Regions from separate parts of the Homo sapiens genome. Here regions 2 and 3 are each linked to region 1. Evidence: promoter capture Hi-C in human tissues and cell types (Jung and others, 2019). All regions are on one chromosome and are shown on one strand. The core of a region is centred on a gene start or on the middle of the fragment in contact, and the rest is flanking DNA. Distances in the headings are between cores, read along the strand shown.

Evidence for each region. Contacts are between HindIII fragments. The study calls those that stand out against the background at their distance.
Region 2: a contact is called between the fragment with the promoter of PITPNM3 here and the fragment with the promoter of NUP88 in region 1, in 1 of the 25 tissues and cell types used here (bladder).
Region 3: a fragment that was not itself captured here is called in contact with the fragment with the promoter of NUP88 in region 1 in 1 of the 25 tissues and cell types used here (dorsolateral prefrontal cortex).

Annotation. Positions count from the first base shown.
Region 1 is chr17:5,417,966-5,422,358 of GRCh38, reverse strand. NUP88 (nucleoporin 88) reads left to right here and starts at 2,697. Exons shown (of 17, transcript NM_002532.6): 1 at 2,697-3,005. The coding sequence starts at 2,709. RPAIN (RPA interacting protein) reads right to left here and starts at 2,177. Exons shown (of 7, transcript NM_001033002.4): 1 at 2,068-2,177; 2 at 893-1,063. The coding sequence starts at 2,148. RefSeq lists enhancers at 1,906-2,125, 2,136-2,255, 1,985-2,522, 2,523-3,060, 2,696-3,335. The HindIII fragment of the contact is 11,956 bases long and covers 1-4,393 here.
Region 2 is chr17:6,555,155-6,559,948 of GRCh38, reverse strand. It overlaps PITPNM3 (PITPNM family member 3), which reads left to right and starts at 3,394. Exons shown (of 20, transcript NM_031220.4): 1 at 3,394-3,564. The coding sequence starts at 3,543. RefSeq lists an enhancer at 4,483-4,794. The HindIII fragment of the contact is 12,560 bases long and covers 1-4,794 here.
Region 3 is chr17:6,657,484-6,662,539 of GRCh38, reverse strand. It overlaps the pseudogene ALOX15P1. Among named protein-coding and RNA genes, the nearest start is that of MIR4520-1, 4.5 kb to the right of the region's middle. RefSeq lists an enhancer at 4,947-5,056. The HindIII fragment of the contact is 8,121 bases long and covers 1-5,056 here.

The DNA of each region.
Region 1 (4,393 bases), core at 1,448-3,947:
CAAAAGCCACTGAATAATGCATCATTATTACACAGGGTGTTGATGGTTTCAAACAGTTGCCCACATTTTCTTACACAGTCCTTACAATGCTGAAAACATTATCTTCTCATTTTATAAATGTGAAAACTAAACCTCAAAGAGGCAAACTGAAGTTAACAGTCAATAGCCAAACCAGGATTTGAATTCTGGAACTCCTGACTTCGAATCCAGTGTTCTTCCTGATACACTATAAATGGTTTTCCCTTCCACACATGGCTGCCAACGTTGGCTGAGATTAGAATCGGAAAGTTTCTGGAGACCTTTTTAGAAAGAGATTCCTGACGTGGGCAGATCACTAGAGGTCAGGCGTTCAAGACCAGCCTGGCCAACATGGTGAAACCCCATCCCTGCTAAAACAGAAACAAAATTAGCCGGGCATGGTGGCACACATCTGTAATCCCAGCTACTTGGGAGGCTGAGACAGGAGAATCGTTTGAACCCAGGAGGTGGAGGTTGCAGTGAGCCGAGATCTTGCCACTGCACTCCAGCCTGGGCGACAGAGCAAGACAGAAAAAAAAAAAGAGCGAGAGAGAGGGAGAGAAAGAGATTCCTAGCCTATGCCTACTGAATCATAATTTCCAAGGGTGGAGGCAAGAAATGAAATTTCTTTCTTTTTAGTTTCATAAATGATGATGTTGCAGTGATGAGCAGGTCTACGGTCTGGTATTTCAGACCATTTCATCTAGACAAGTCTAACATTAAGTGTAGAAAAGCCTGGGTTAAAGGCTGTTGAATTCTAAATGGGGTTAGGGGAATGGTGGGTTTAGAGGACTCAAGTAAACAAATAAAAGAGGACACGAGCCGTTCTTGGTGGTGCAGTCCCCCTCCCTGAAAACACATAGCCCAGCCTGACCTGAGCCAAGTCTTCTGGACAATTCTCCACTGACTGCAAAGCATTCCACTCTTCTTCCATCACCTCTTGAACTAGAAAGCTGTTCTGAGAATTCCCTGGCCCACTGCTTCCAGCCTGGCGGTACCTGTTTAGGAGCCTGTCCCGGCTGTTTCTCATTCTCTCCAGGCATCTCTGGGAAAAAAGAGCAAGATTGGGGGGGAAAAAAAAAGCATTTCTATTTTTAAAAAACACTCTTACATTAGTTGAGAAAACATTAAAGAAAGTTTATAGACACAAAATTTCAATGATAATACTAACTAGTGTTACTTTTGCATATTCCTCTGTAGAGATACATAAAATTACAATGCTTTGTACACGTATTTACAAAGAACCATATTTTTTATTCTAGCTTGCCAGTTTCCTTAATGGTTGTGTGCATAATATCTCAGCATCCAATGTCCTATTACAGAACATTTATATTCCTTCCAAATTCTTGCTACTCTAGATATGGCTGGGTAACGGCCTTCCTGCACAGCAGCGTTTCTGAACTCAGGGAGGTTTTGTCCCCCAAGGAACATTTGGCAATGCTTGGAGACATTTCTGGTTGTCACAATTCTAGTTATAGGACTATTAGCATCTAGTGGGTGGAGGCCCGAGACGTGGCTTAAACAACCCTCCACAACATATAAATATCTCCCTCAAAATGTCCATTGTCAAGGCTGAGAAACTCTGCTGTATCTGCTATCTTTCTTGCGTCGGGTTACTTTCTTGGACATTACTTACTAATAACCACACTGTGTTCAGAAGAGGCCAGAACTGAGGTGGAGCCCTCTTCTAAGCCTCATTTTACTACTCTCTAGAATAGAAATCATCTCTATCTCACAAGACGAACGTAGACAAAGTGCCTCTCTCGGTGGCCACCTCCGCAGCAACAGTAGGTAGTGTTATTGCAGAGGTGCAAACGGTGATGTCCTGACCACAATTTAAATTCAAAACAAAATCGAATCCAAAAACAAGGCTTTCTAGGACTTGACCGACCCGGGCTAATCCCACACTCTACAGTCAGCAGGCCTGGGTTTGACCAGACCAGGCGCGCTGCGGCACCTGCTCCACGGAGCAGGGCTAAGGCGAAGGCAGGGAAGACGGCGGTCACCGGGACGATCTAGGGTAGACCACTGCACAAACCCCATACCCACCTGCCGGAAAGCCTCTTTCCAAGGCGGCGAGCCCACCAGTTTGTACAGGGAGCGGCGCGGAGACCTCAACGACTCCGCCATCTCCTCTTCGCGGGAGACAAAGCCACAAGACCCGTTCCCTGGAGGCGCGCACAGACCCCTGGGAGGTGTACTTTCCGGGTGCAGACCGCGAATGGATCGCAGCGTATTCTGGGAAGTGTTGTTTTATCGACCGGCCCCACGTGGAGACAGATTTAGGCATCCAAGCGAAATGCGTGAGGCCAGCCCGACCTGCACTGAGGGAGGTAAGTCTTGAGGGAAAGTTCTGGATGCCTGGGTTTACCCAGATGGAGGTGTCCAATAGGCAATTAGATACACAAGTCTCAGGCTCTCCCCAGGTGCTAGATTTCCAGCAGCACCACCATTATGTTGACTTCTCGTCCCGCCCCCTTGGGCTTCAGAAATAATGGTGATTGGCTTTCCCTTGGTGACGCCCCTGCTTGGTGGGCTGGCCTCGCCTTCGCCCCCCGACCTGGCACGAGCCTCTCGAGCTTCCGGGCCGTCTGCTCGGTGATTGGCCGAAACAGTGAGTGGACGGCCGCGGATTGGCTGTGCTCAGCGGCGGGCTGAGCAACTGGAGTGAGGGGAGCAGTTGGGCCAAGATGGCGGCCGCCGAGGGACCGGTGGGCGACGGCGAGCTGTGGCAGACCTGGCTTCCTAACCACGTCGTGTTCTTGCGGCTCCGGGAGGGACTGAAAAACCAGAGTCCAACCGAAGCTGAGAAACCAGCTTCTTCGTCGTTGCCTTCGTCGCCGCCGCCGCAGTTGCTGACGAGAAACGTGGTCTTTGGCCTCGGCGGAGAGCTTTTCCTGTGGGACGGAGAAGACAGCTCCTTCTTAGTCGTTCGCCTTCGGGGCCCCAGCGGCGGCGGCGAAGAGCCCGCCCTGTCCCAGTACCAGGTAATGCCAGGCCGATCTTGGAAGTGACCCTCACCGGGATCGGAACCAGTCTTTTTTGTTCCTTGCTCCTCTTGGCTGTTTTTCATCTTGTGGCAGGCGTTCCAGCGGATTGACTCCGACGCTGCCATACGCGGTCGCGGGGACTCAGGCTCTCTCGATGCTTACGGCCTGGAGGCCTGGGAGGAAGGAAAGGGTCATTGAATATTCAATAAAAATACTAGTGACGGATGAGTGCTCTGGAGAAAAACAAAGCGGGCTAAAGGGGTTGAGAACGAGTGGGCGGAGTTGCTATTTTTAGTTTCGTCGAGAGAAACCTGTTTCCTGATGTGACGCTTATAATAGGTTAGATCGTAACTTTCTCTTGCGTTGTGCACAGCAAGTCAGGTTGCAGGTTTCAAAGCACCACGCTTCATGCTTGACATGGAGGAGGAAGTCTCTGTTAATTCTTACCCCCGTAACGCCCGCTTTAGAAAATAAAGCCATACCCAAAATGGGGATTTTTGTTTTTGATTAGCCGACAGCATGTGAAAATGGGTGTGATCCAGAAAGTATTACACACTTGCCGTGGTCAAATATTGGTTTATGGAAATGTTTATTTGTAATACACAGATTCTCTTAAAGATGAAAAAGAGCTTGGTACTCATTCTAAGGTATGACATCTGTTGTGTGCCCGGTCCAATTCTTGTTACCGAGAAGTGATTTAATTTTAATAAGACGCTAGCAATGCTTCTGCAGTTTTGAAAATAGGGCAGGAGTCTACAGTCTACTTATTTACCCAATTTCAGTTAAAAAGAATTATGAAGGCCGGGCGCGGTGGCTCACGCCTGCAGTCCCAACACTGGGAGGCAGAGGCAGGTGGATCACCTGAAGTCAGGAATTCGAGACCAGCCTGGCCAACATGGTGAAACCCCGTCTCTACTAAAAATACAAAAATTAGCCAGGTGTAGTGGCGCGCCCTTGTAATCCCAGCTACTCAGGTGCCTGAGGCAGGAGAATCGCTTGAACCTGGGAGGAGGAGGTTGCAGTGAGCTGAGATCACGCCCCTGCACTACAGCCTGGGCAACAGAGCAAGACTGTGTCTCAAAAAATAATAATAATTACCAAATGTGCAGCACGCAGTATTCTAATAACATTCTATACTGCTGTGTAGCATTTGACATAATCATAACTTAATTATTTATAATTATTTTGTGTCTTTTTTTTTTTTTTGAGATGGAGTTTCGCTCTTGTTGCCCAGGCTGGAGTGCAATGGCGCCATCTCGGCTCACCGCAACCTCCACCTTCCAGTTTCAAGCGATTCTTCTGCCTCAGCCCCCCCCGCGAGTAGCTGGGATTACAGGTATCTGCCACCACGCCCGACTAATTTTTGTGTTTTTAGTAGAGACGGG
Region 2 (4,794 bases), core at 2,145-4,644, 1.1 Mb before region 1:
TGCATGAGCAGCGTCCTTCTTACACAGCTTATTCTCTGTTGTGAGCACTTGCGCTGAGATGCTTGACATGGCTCAAGTCCTGGAGGGAGGTGGAGGCTCCCTCCACTGGAGCCCATCAGGGAGTGGACCGGGGTAAGCCACTTGACCAGGCTATCTTCTTGCTCCTGACTCCCTTTGTTGTTTACAAAGTTACTGTCAGAGAGCTGGGCAGCAGCCGTGCCCCAACCCAGGCCCAGAAGGCAAGGCGATGCCCAACTCCACTAGTCGTTATAACCGTGTCCAAATAGGAAATGAGCTTTGCCTGGCATGACTAGCTTTCAGGGGGGCCATGTTGGCTCCTAGGAACTGTCACTTAGCTTTCCAAGTGCTCACACCAGCTGTCCAGGCTGGATAGCCAGGCCTGGGGTCTGCCATGTCGAGGAGTTGTCTTGCAGCCAGCTCCCACTCCTTACCCACCTGGAGCTCTCCAACCTGTCCACATCTCTGCACACGTCCTCCACAGCCATTGACAGGATGGGCCCCTGCTCATTTTTACTGGTTCTCTGGGCTAGATGCTTGCCTGGGCCTGGGAGCAGCTGGCCACTGTGAAGGCAGGAGCAGAACAAGCTGTGGTCAGAGGAAAGGGCCTGGGTGCCAGGTCTCAGAGAAGGGATTTGATCTGGTCTCCTGGCACAGTAACTCTGGTAACTGGGAGAGTTACTGGCACAGTAACTCTGGTAACTGGGAGGCCCCGTAGGCCCTGGCTGGCTCCTGCCTCTCTTTCCTCCGGGCAGCAGAGGTCAGCGTGGCTAAATTGCTAGTTATCCCTTTCTTCAATTAAGGACAATTCTTCTGACGCAGGAAGTTAACTCCCACCAGTTAATCTAATGGCCTTGAGTTTTGATGTGTTTGCTCTGTCAGAAGGCTGGGCTGGAACTTCCTTGGCAGCTGGTAACAGTCAGTGCCTTCAGGGGCTGCCTTAGGGGCGGACAGAGGCTGGGGTGAAGGTTTAAAGAGGGGAACCATGGATCTGGGCCTCTGAGTCGTGGTTTTCAGGGGACAGATCTGGCTTACTGTCTTCCCATCTGAGAAATGGGGTGTGGAGTGGTCTGGAGAGATGAGTTCTGAAACTCCCATCAACTTGGCACCTCCCCTTAACCGCTCCACCCAGGCCCTTCTGGGTGACTAGTTTAGGGTTTGTGAGGACTAAGTGGTGGGAGGGGAAGGGGTCTGGGTGCCCACCCAGGGAGCATCTGTCAGCAGGTGTTTGCCTGTGTTTGTGTGTACGAGTGTGCCTACACACACCCATGCATGCATCCCTAAGCACACACAAGCACACACACATACACCCCATGCACACATACCCAGGCACACACACAAACACAACGTGAAGCTGTGCCCAGAAGCAGGAGGGCCCTTGATGCCCTCTGGTCACTGCTGCTACTGTGAGCCAGGGCTGGGGAGGAGCTCAGGCCCAGGCGTGTCCCCTCTGTGGCAGGCGCATTGCTTCTTCTGCAGCCAGCGTTCTGTCTCCTGCGTGACCACTCACACCTACAGACCAGGTGGCCAAGCCTGGACATTGTCCAGGCTATCAGGCCTCTGAAACACCTCAGGGAAGGGTGAGGCCAGTGAGGCCCAGTAGACAAAGCACAGGGGCCTGAAATTGATCCTCCATGACCACAAGCACCGAACTTTCTTAGCCCCCACTTCGTTATGTGTATGCTGAGGATAACGCAATGTAGCTGAGAGAGTACATGAGGGTAAATACCGCCTGTTCAATCAATAGTCCTTGTTATTCTCATCCCCAGTCCCATTCTCATAGTGGGGAAAGGCTGCAGGGTCCATTCCTGCTCTCCCAGCTGGTGACCAATGGCAGGTGCTGGTGAACAGCGTTGGATTCAGGAGCCCAGAGCTTCTGAAATTCTACATCTGTTGGAGTTGGTGCTGTCATCTGGCTCTGGGATCCAGAGCTCTTGGGACTCATGGGTTTCCTGGGAGGTGAGCTCTGGCAAACGTGGATGGTTGTTCTCCCTGGGTGAATCCATACTAGGGAGTTTGGGTAGAAGGCCTTGGGAAGCCCTGGTTTTGTTGGGTGAGGTGTCGGAAGGCAGAGCAGAACTCATGGATGGGACATGCGGGTTGTAGATTTCAGCTCAAACGAGTAAGAACATTCTTAAGGCCAGCACTAGCCAAAAAAAAAAAAAAAAAATTAATAAAAGGAAGAACTCTCACTTAAGATACTGAGCTTCCTGTCCTTGGAGGTAACCAACCAGGAGCTGGAGGACTGCTTAGCAGGAATCTTGTGAATGGAGTCAAAGCCCCAGAGAAGGCACTGGACTGAGAGCCCCCATCTAACCCCATGTGTGCCCTGTTTCCATAGAGGAGCTTGCAGGACCCTGGAGCCTGGACCATGGATGGAATTCTCCAGTTGACCTTTTCCCTGTTAAGTGGAGTGGGACAGGGTGGGTTGGGTGCCTGGCTCTACAGATGGTAACTGGGCTTCAGCCTTACCAATTCCTGGGGGAGGCAGGGCACCCTCTCAGTGGAGGGTTGTTACCTCTCAGGCACCGCCAAATACAATTGGCCATCTCCTGCTCTCTTTTGGGGCTGGACTGTGGATCCCTGCTGCCCCTAAACAGAAGTCATAACCCATATCTCCCCGGACCACAAGGCCTGTCCACTAGAATCTCTGCATCCCGATTTAGGAAGTGGAAGGCGGGTACTGCTCACCACCAGGCCGCTGGGGTCCACAAAGCCTGCTCCAGCCTAGAACCCCAGGTGGATGTGCAAGTGTTTTACTTATCCCTTGAGGGTTAAAATCACGGGAATCCTTTCTCTTTTGAGGTTAGGTCAGACGCCATAAATGATCCAGAACCCCTGGAGCGGGGGCTGATGGAGGGGGTCCCTCTCTTGTCTCTGATCCCAGAGCGACTTTCCTCTTGACTTCGTGGGGGCCTCCCTTGGATCCCTGTCCTCCTTCCTCTCTCCGCTCCCTCTGTCCGTCTCTCCCGGAGCCGGAGCCGGGCTCTGGGTCTCTGGTCTCCTCTGAATTTCTCTCTCTCTCCCTCCACCTCGGCGTTCTGGCCCTAGGAGCGTCTCTCTCCAGCGCTGTCTAATAGTCTGTGCGCCCCTCTCCCAGTCCAGGGCCCCGTCTCTGGCCCGCAGTGTCTCGGGCTGTCTCCGCGTCTCTGAGCCCCTGGGCTGCCGCCCCTCGCGCGCTGCGGTGGCCGCGCGGGCCGGAGCGGAGCGGGCTGGAGCGCGGCGGCCACGGCCCGGGGCGGGGGTGCGGGCCCGCGGGGGCGGCGTTGGGCGCCTTCCTTCGTCAGTCCCTCCCCGGCGGCGCGGGGGGTGGGGTGGGGGGGGGGCGCGGCCGCCGCTCGGCGCCTTTAAGGGAGCGGGAGGGAGCGGCGAGGCGGCGGCGGCTGCGGTGGCGGCAGCCGAGGCGAGCGGGGCGGGGGCGCGGGCGCGGCGCTCGGAGTCCGTTCGGGGCCGGAGGCGGTCGGGGCCGGGCCCGGGAAGCGCGAGGAGCGCGCGTAGCGCCGCCGGAGCCCGCCGCCCGGGACATGGCCAAGGCGGGCCGTGCAGGTGAGGGCGGGCGCGGGGAGGGCAGGGCCGGGGCCCGGGGGAGGGACTCGCGCGTCTAGAGGAGGGGCCGCCGGCCCAGGTGAACCCCTCGCGCAGGTGGGCGGAGGTCCCGGGAGGGCGTAGGGGGCGGTAGCGGGGCTGGACCTCCCGCGCGTGGAGAGGGGGCTCCGCGCGCCCCCCGTCCTTCCTGCGCCCCCGGTCACCTCGGGGGACACCGCGTCCCCTTCTCCACGGCCCCGCCGGAAAGGGCCAGGTCTGCGGCGCCCCGGGCCAGTCCCGCCGTTGGGAGCCCTCTGCACCCCGCGGAGGCCCCGGGCAGACCCGGGCTTCGCCACCGAAGGGGATGTCCCGCGGCCGCCGCTTCGTCCCACACCCCAACGCAAACCGGGACGCGCCCCCTGCTCCTGCAGCTCTCTCCATCCAGGACGCCACAACCCCCCGCCCCAGCCCCCGTCACCAGCTCAGTCCAGAGACCCAGATTCCTTCTCGGGAAGGAGGGGAGCCCCGTGCCGCGCCGGCTGCTGGCCGCCCCGCCCCCTCCCCCATCGACCCTGGGACGCAAAGCCTCAGCTGCGGAGGCCTCTTCTGGGGTCCCGTGGGCTCTGCCCTCCCCCAGGCTCAGACGGTGTAGCCTGTGGTTTGAGGGAGCGGGCATTAGTCATTCGTTCATTCATCCAGCCCGACGTTCATTCACTAGCATCTGCTCTGTGCCAGACCCTGAGCTGGGCACCGGGGCTCAGGCGGACTCAGCCCCCCTGCTGCGCCCATGCTGGGGAGACCCAGGCCCGTGACTCATCGGGCACATTCTGGGCCCGATGGTGCCTTGGGAGGCGGGTGGAGGACAGCTGTGCCCACAGGGCCGGCCATACAGTAGGCGGCAGCAAGCCTGGTCTCGGCAGTGCCTCTTGTGAGGCTGGCGTGTGAGAATCTACCATGAACTCACACCCAACCCGTGACGTTGGCTGGTGCCATGCCGTCCCCCAGGACCGGGCGCGACAGTGAAGGAATGGGTGTGAATACCATCGGGCTGTGTGTCAATCCACCCCCAAGCCCGAAAGCTGCCCGGGACCCTGGGCTGCGGACCCGTCTCCCTGTGCAGGCACTGAGCCTGTAAGATTTAGGTGCCTGAGAATGCACTCCCGTTCTGTCCCCAAGGAGTCCTGTCGGGGTGGGGCCGGTTGTGTGAGGCACAGCCAGTATGGAACACAGCTAAACAGCCTTCTCACTCCC
Region 3 (5,056 bases), core at 1,389-3,888, 1.2 Mb before region 1:
TTGCAACGTGGATTCAGCTGCCACTAAGGGAAGGAACATCTGCTACCAGGGTGAATTAGTTACTGGTGTGAGCTCGACATGGAGCCAGGTAAGAAGGCAGGAATATGGTTTGCAGAGACCTAGCCTTAGACAGGAAGCTGACTTTAGAAGGTAGAGGGTTGGAGCCAAGGGCGAAGCCTAACTCCCACAGTCAGTTCTATTGGTTAATCAGCATTTATATTTAAACTTCCATACTCAAAAGAAAAAATGGGCCAGGCGTGGTGGCTCACACCTGTAATCCCAGCACTTTGGGAGGCTGAGGCAGGCAGATTACCTGAGGTCAGGAGTTCAAGACATGGTAGCACACGCCTGTAATCCCAACTACTTGGGAGGCTGAGGTAGGACAATTGCTTGAGCCTGGGAGACAGAGGTTGCAGTGAGCCAAGGTTGTGCCACTGCACTCCAGCCTGGCTGACAGAGTGAGACTGTCTCAAAAATAAAATAAAATAAAATAAAATAAAATAAAATAAAATAAAATAAAATAAAATAAAATAAAATATTCTTTTCTATCTAACACAATGCAACTATTCTTCATAGAAATAAAGATGCTATTAGTCTCTCCTTGAGAAAAGAGACACACAAAGTCCCAAAAGTCACTGCATCCGTCTCTGGGAGAGAGTAATAATATTCATCTCTGAGCTACGATAATTACTCCATGAATGGAGTCGCAGTCCTGTCTGAATATTCTGTTACCTAAAAACTAAATTGTAAAGTTAATCTTCCACAAAACGTATATAAAATAATGAGGAGGAGACCTCCAGCTGGAGTGAAGTAAGGAACTGGATTTACCCTCTTGCCTGAAATAACTGAAGAAACAGACACAAGTGGGCCCCACAATTGCCCCAGCTTACTGCCTGGAGAAAGCTTTCCAGCTGCAGAGTAGGGAGGAGCAACCCTGGCAGAGTCCTATCATCTTCCTGAGTTAAGGGGACAGAGAGAGCTGGCAGTACTGGGAGGCCAATACAGCCAGAATTCACAGGGCAGCATGCTGAAATTGAGGGTGTTGTACAGAAAGAGAACTCTAGAGAAACAAAGGTCCCCATCAAGTATTCAGCTGAATACAGGAGAGAAGGGGATAAGGTGTTACCTTGAAGATAGGATGTATCGACGGCAGGCACCTCATGGTGGCCACAACAATGACCTGAGCCATCAAGTGTCCCCTCAGAAGATGAGACTGCAGCTCACGGAGCTGGAAGTCAGAGCTGCGCACCCAGCATTGGGCCAGAAGCCAGACCACTGGGGGATCCGTGGGCAGGAAAAGGGGAGGTGGTGGGGATCCTGTGCTGGGCAGCTGGAGCTGGAGCAGGGACAAGTGTGGGGAGAGAAGGCATGAGTGCCCGGCACTCAGCGATTCCCGCCCCCCTTGCATGTTAACCTCGTCCTCCAAACCTGTTCTGCTTTCCCCATCCCACTCCTGCCTCTCCCTACAGCTCCCATTTCCTCCCCTCCCCTTCCTACCAGCTCAGTGCATTAGCACCCTGCAAGCTGCTTTGCCTCCAGCATTCTGCAGAAACTGCTCTTCTGGTGCCTCCTCCAGCCTCCACTTCCCCTTTCAGTCCCCGCATTGTGGACAAGATTCAAACCACCTGCTTCCTCCATCCCACACTGTTTTTCGAAATCTCATCTTTTGGCCCCACCTCTACACAAATGACTGAATCTCTTGTTCTCAGCTGCCTGCTGGACAATTTAAATGTCTTCCCGTTACCTCAACATTGGCCAGACAAAAGTCTACCTGGGCACCCTGTTCTCTTTATTGGTGCTATTTCTGCAGGCACCTGGCCTGGCTCCCCTTTCCCCTCTCCTTCATCTCCCTCTGCACTCGCATCCACCGGTCCTCTCCATCCCGACGGTCACTACCCATATCCGAGCTCCCCTCCTCCTGGGGTCAGTGCTGGGGCATGTTGCCCCAGTCCCTGTTTCTAGCATCTCCCCTCTCCAACCCACCCTAAACACCACTGCCCACACCGCGTGCCTATAGCATGTTTCATCACAGCCTTCTCCAGCTTCCCACTTCATGCTCCTTAGCCTGGCTTAGTCTGGCCCCAGTCCAACTGTCCCCTAGGAATCTCCTGACTCCTCTACCTTAGCCTCTGCCCAGTCTGTCTTGCCCCTGAGGACTGGTCCTTCCTCTCCCTCCTGCTTGTCTGAGACCTGGCCCTCCTCCAAGGCTGGTGACATCCCAACTCCCCGATCCCTCCTGGGCTGTCTCTGTCCTCCGGGACTTCCTCAGTCCCGGAGCTTCTGCAGACTAGCCCTATGTGTCTCTCCAGCTACATTGCAAGGCCTTCGAATAGAGACTTGGCGCATTTCCTCCTTTCGCGTCTCCCTGGTGCCTTAGCCCAGCGCCTTTGAAGATGGTGCTTAGTGCATTTCGATAAGGGGCTGAGCTGAGAAGGCTGGAGACTGGGAGCAGAAATCCTGAGTCCTCTCACCTGGATGACCATGGGCAAGAGTTTCCCATCAGGCTGCAGTTTCAGCATGACCAGAGGGGCAGCCAGGTGCTGCTGGCTACAGAGACTGACGTTGGCCTTGATCCCATCCAGCAGGGAGAAGTCAGCTTCGAACAATGTGCCTCCCTGGGTGCAGGAAGAGGTCAAAGGCTGCTATCAACATAAAGCATCTTCTTCCCACTCGGATTCCTCCAAGGGGGAAGAGAGAGAGAGAGAGGAGAGAGAGAGAGAGAGAGAGAGAGAGAGAGAGAGAGAAGCTAACTTGTCTCCATCACCTACTTTGTACCAGGTAATGGATCATGTGCTTATTGCCTCATATCATTGTTTATTTTTTGAGCCAGGGTATTACTCTGTTGCCCAGGCTGGAGTGCCATGGCGGGACCACCATGGCTCACTGCAGCCTTGACTTCCTTGGGCCCAGGTGATCCTCCCACCTCAGCCTCCCAAATAGCTGGGACTACAGGTGCATGCCACTACACCAAAAGTTACAGGTGCTAATTTTTGTATTTTTGTAGAGGCAGGGTTTCACCACGTTGCCTAGGCTGGTCTCCAACTATTGGGCTCAGGTGATCCTCCTGCCTCGACCTCCCAAAGTGCTGGAATTACAGGTGCAAGCCACTGTGCCCAGCCTTATAATTTTTATACCTAGTTGAACGAGCCTCAGTTGCACAGAAGAGGAAACAGATAATCAGAGAGGCTGGGTATTTTGCCTGAGGTCACACAGCTTACAAATAGCAGAACCAGGATTCACATCCAAGCCTATCTGCCCTTAATCCCATGAATTTCCTCTCTGTTGTTCCATATCGCCTCCTGATGAACAGCCACAGCACTCTGATCCTGACTCTCTTACTCTGCACACTCCCCGAATCCCTAGCACCAGGGGCCAGTCACATTTCTTCATTTGACCCTGTTTCTATCAACCATTCCATCTTGCACGCCCTCCCTCCACAGCTACTCTCGTGTGGGAAGGAGGCCGAGCAGCTGAGCTTCTCCAGGGTCCCTCAGGACCTCTCCTGCAGAATCCGTCCTTGCTGGCTGGCAGCAAGCCAGGCCCACAGTGGGTCCCGCAGCAGCATCATTGGCACTAGGCCACCCCACTTCACTGCTGAGCTTCCTCAGGGCTCTGATGTCCATACCTCCAGCTCCTTCTCCAGCTGGGCCTGCAGTTCCTCCATGCCTGGAGGGAACACTAGGCGAGCAGGAAGGTGAGCAGAGCGCCTCAGCACCACGGGGTTGGCGCCATTAAGAAACTGGTACCCAAATAAGGCATCTTCCTTCCAGGAGTCCCGCACGCGCTCTGGGGAAGGCAGTTGTTGAGCAAGTTGTGGGATCTGAGCTCTTGGTCCTTCCAACCCCACCAACCATGCCCCCTTGACTCCAGCCCACCAGAGGGACCCAAGTCTCTGGTCTCCCCACCCTGCTTCTTTCAATTCCCCTGGGTTGGGTGGGATCTGGGGGTAAGCGTCCTGGGAGACATATTGGGGTGGGGGACTGACCAGCCAGCTTGCTCTGGCCACAGCAGAAAATCTGGTTGAAGTCATTCAGATCATTCTAGCAAGTCGGAACATTATTTTATTTTTGAGATGGAGTCTCACTCTGTCACCAGGCTGGAGTGCAGTGGTGCAATCTTGGCTCATTGCAACCTCCACCTCCTGGGTTCAAGCAATTCTTGTGCCTTAGCCACCCAAGTAACTGGGACTACAGGCGCGTGCCACCACGCCCAGCTAATTTTTGTATTTTTAGTAGAGACAGGGTTTCACCATATTGGCCAGGATGGTCTCGATCTCTTGACCTCGTGATCTGCCCGCCTCAGTCTCCCAAAGTGCTGGGATTATAGGCGTGAGCCACCATGCCCAGCGTCAGAACATTTAGTTTTTGATAGTGAGGTCGGCCAGCCTTCAGGACAGAATGGGGCAAAGGGTTTGAGCATCATTCTGAGACTCCAACATGACAGCCACAGGCACCGACCTTGAGCCGGTCCAGTGCAGTGCAGTGCAGCCCATAAGCCCCTTGGCTTCCACTAGACCAGGACACCTCCCTCTCACCCAGCCTCCCCTTGCTCTCACCCTTTGGCCAGCGAAACCTTAAAGTCAACACTCTTGTCTTCCAGAAATTGCTCATCCACAGGGAGGTCACATAGTTTTGCCCCAGCCACATTCAGAATTAACCCATCCTTCAAGTTTCCCCACCTGTAGGGCAGGAAGGAAATCAGGCGTGGGTGCTGGAAGCATCAGCAGCTCACGTGGGGTCAGGGGAGGAGGGCTCACCGGTACAACTTCCTTCTCTCTTCCAGCTCCTCTTCCTGGTGTTTCTGGAACAGGCCTCGAGGGTCGTCGCCCACAGTACGGCCTAGAAGGCCAGAGGAGGGCTTGGCCAGTGACTTTTGGTGAGCGCCTCTTCTCGCCCCTGCCAGGAGAGCCTCATCACTCCGTCCTTCTGTGTGACCCCTGCCTCTTCAGCATCACGCCCCTCCCCCAGGCTCCAGCCACTTTGTGCCAGCTGCAGCCACAGCCCCTTCGACACTCCCAAAGAGCCCTGCGCTCCAGGTTCCAGCACCCCCATCCTGC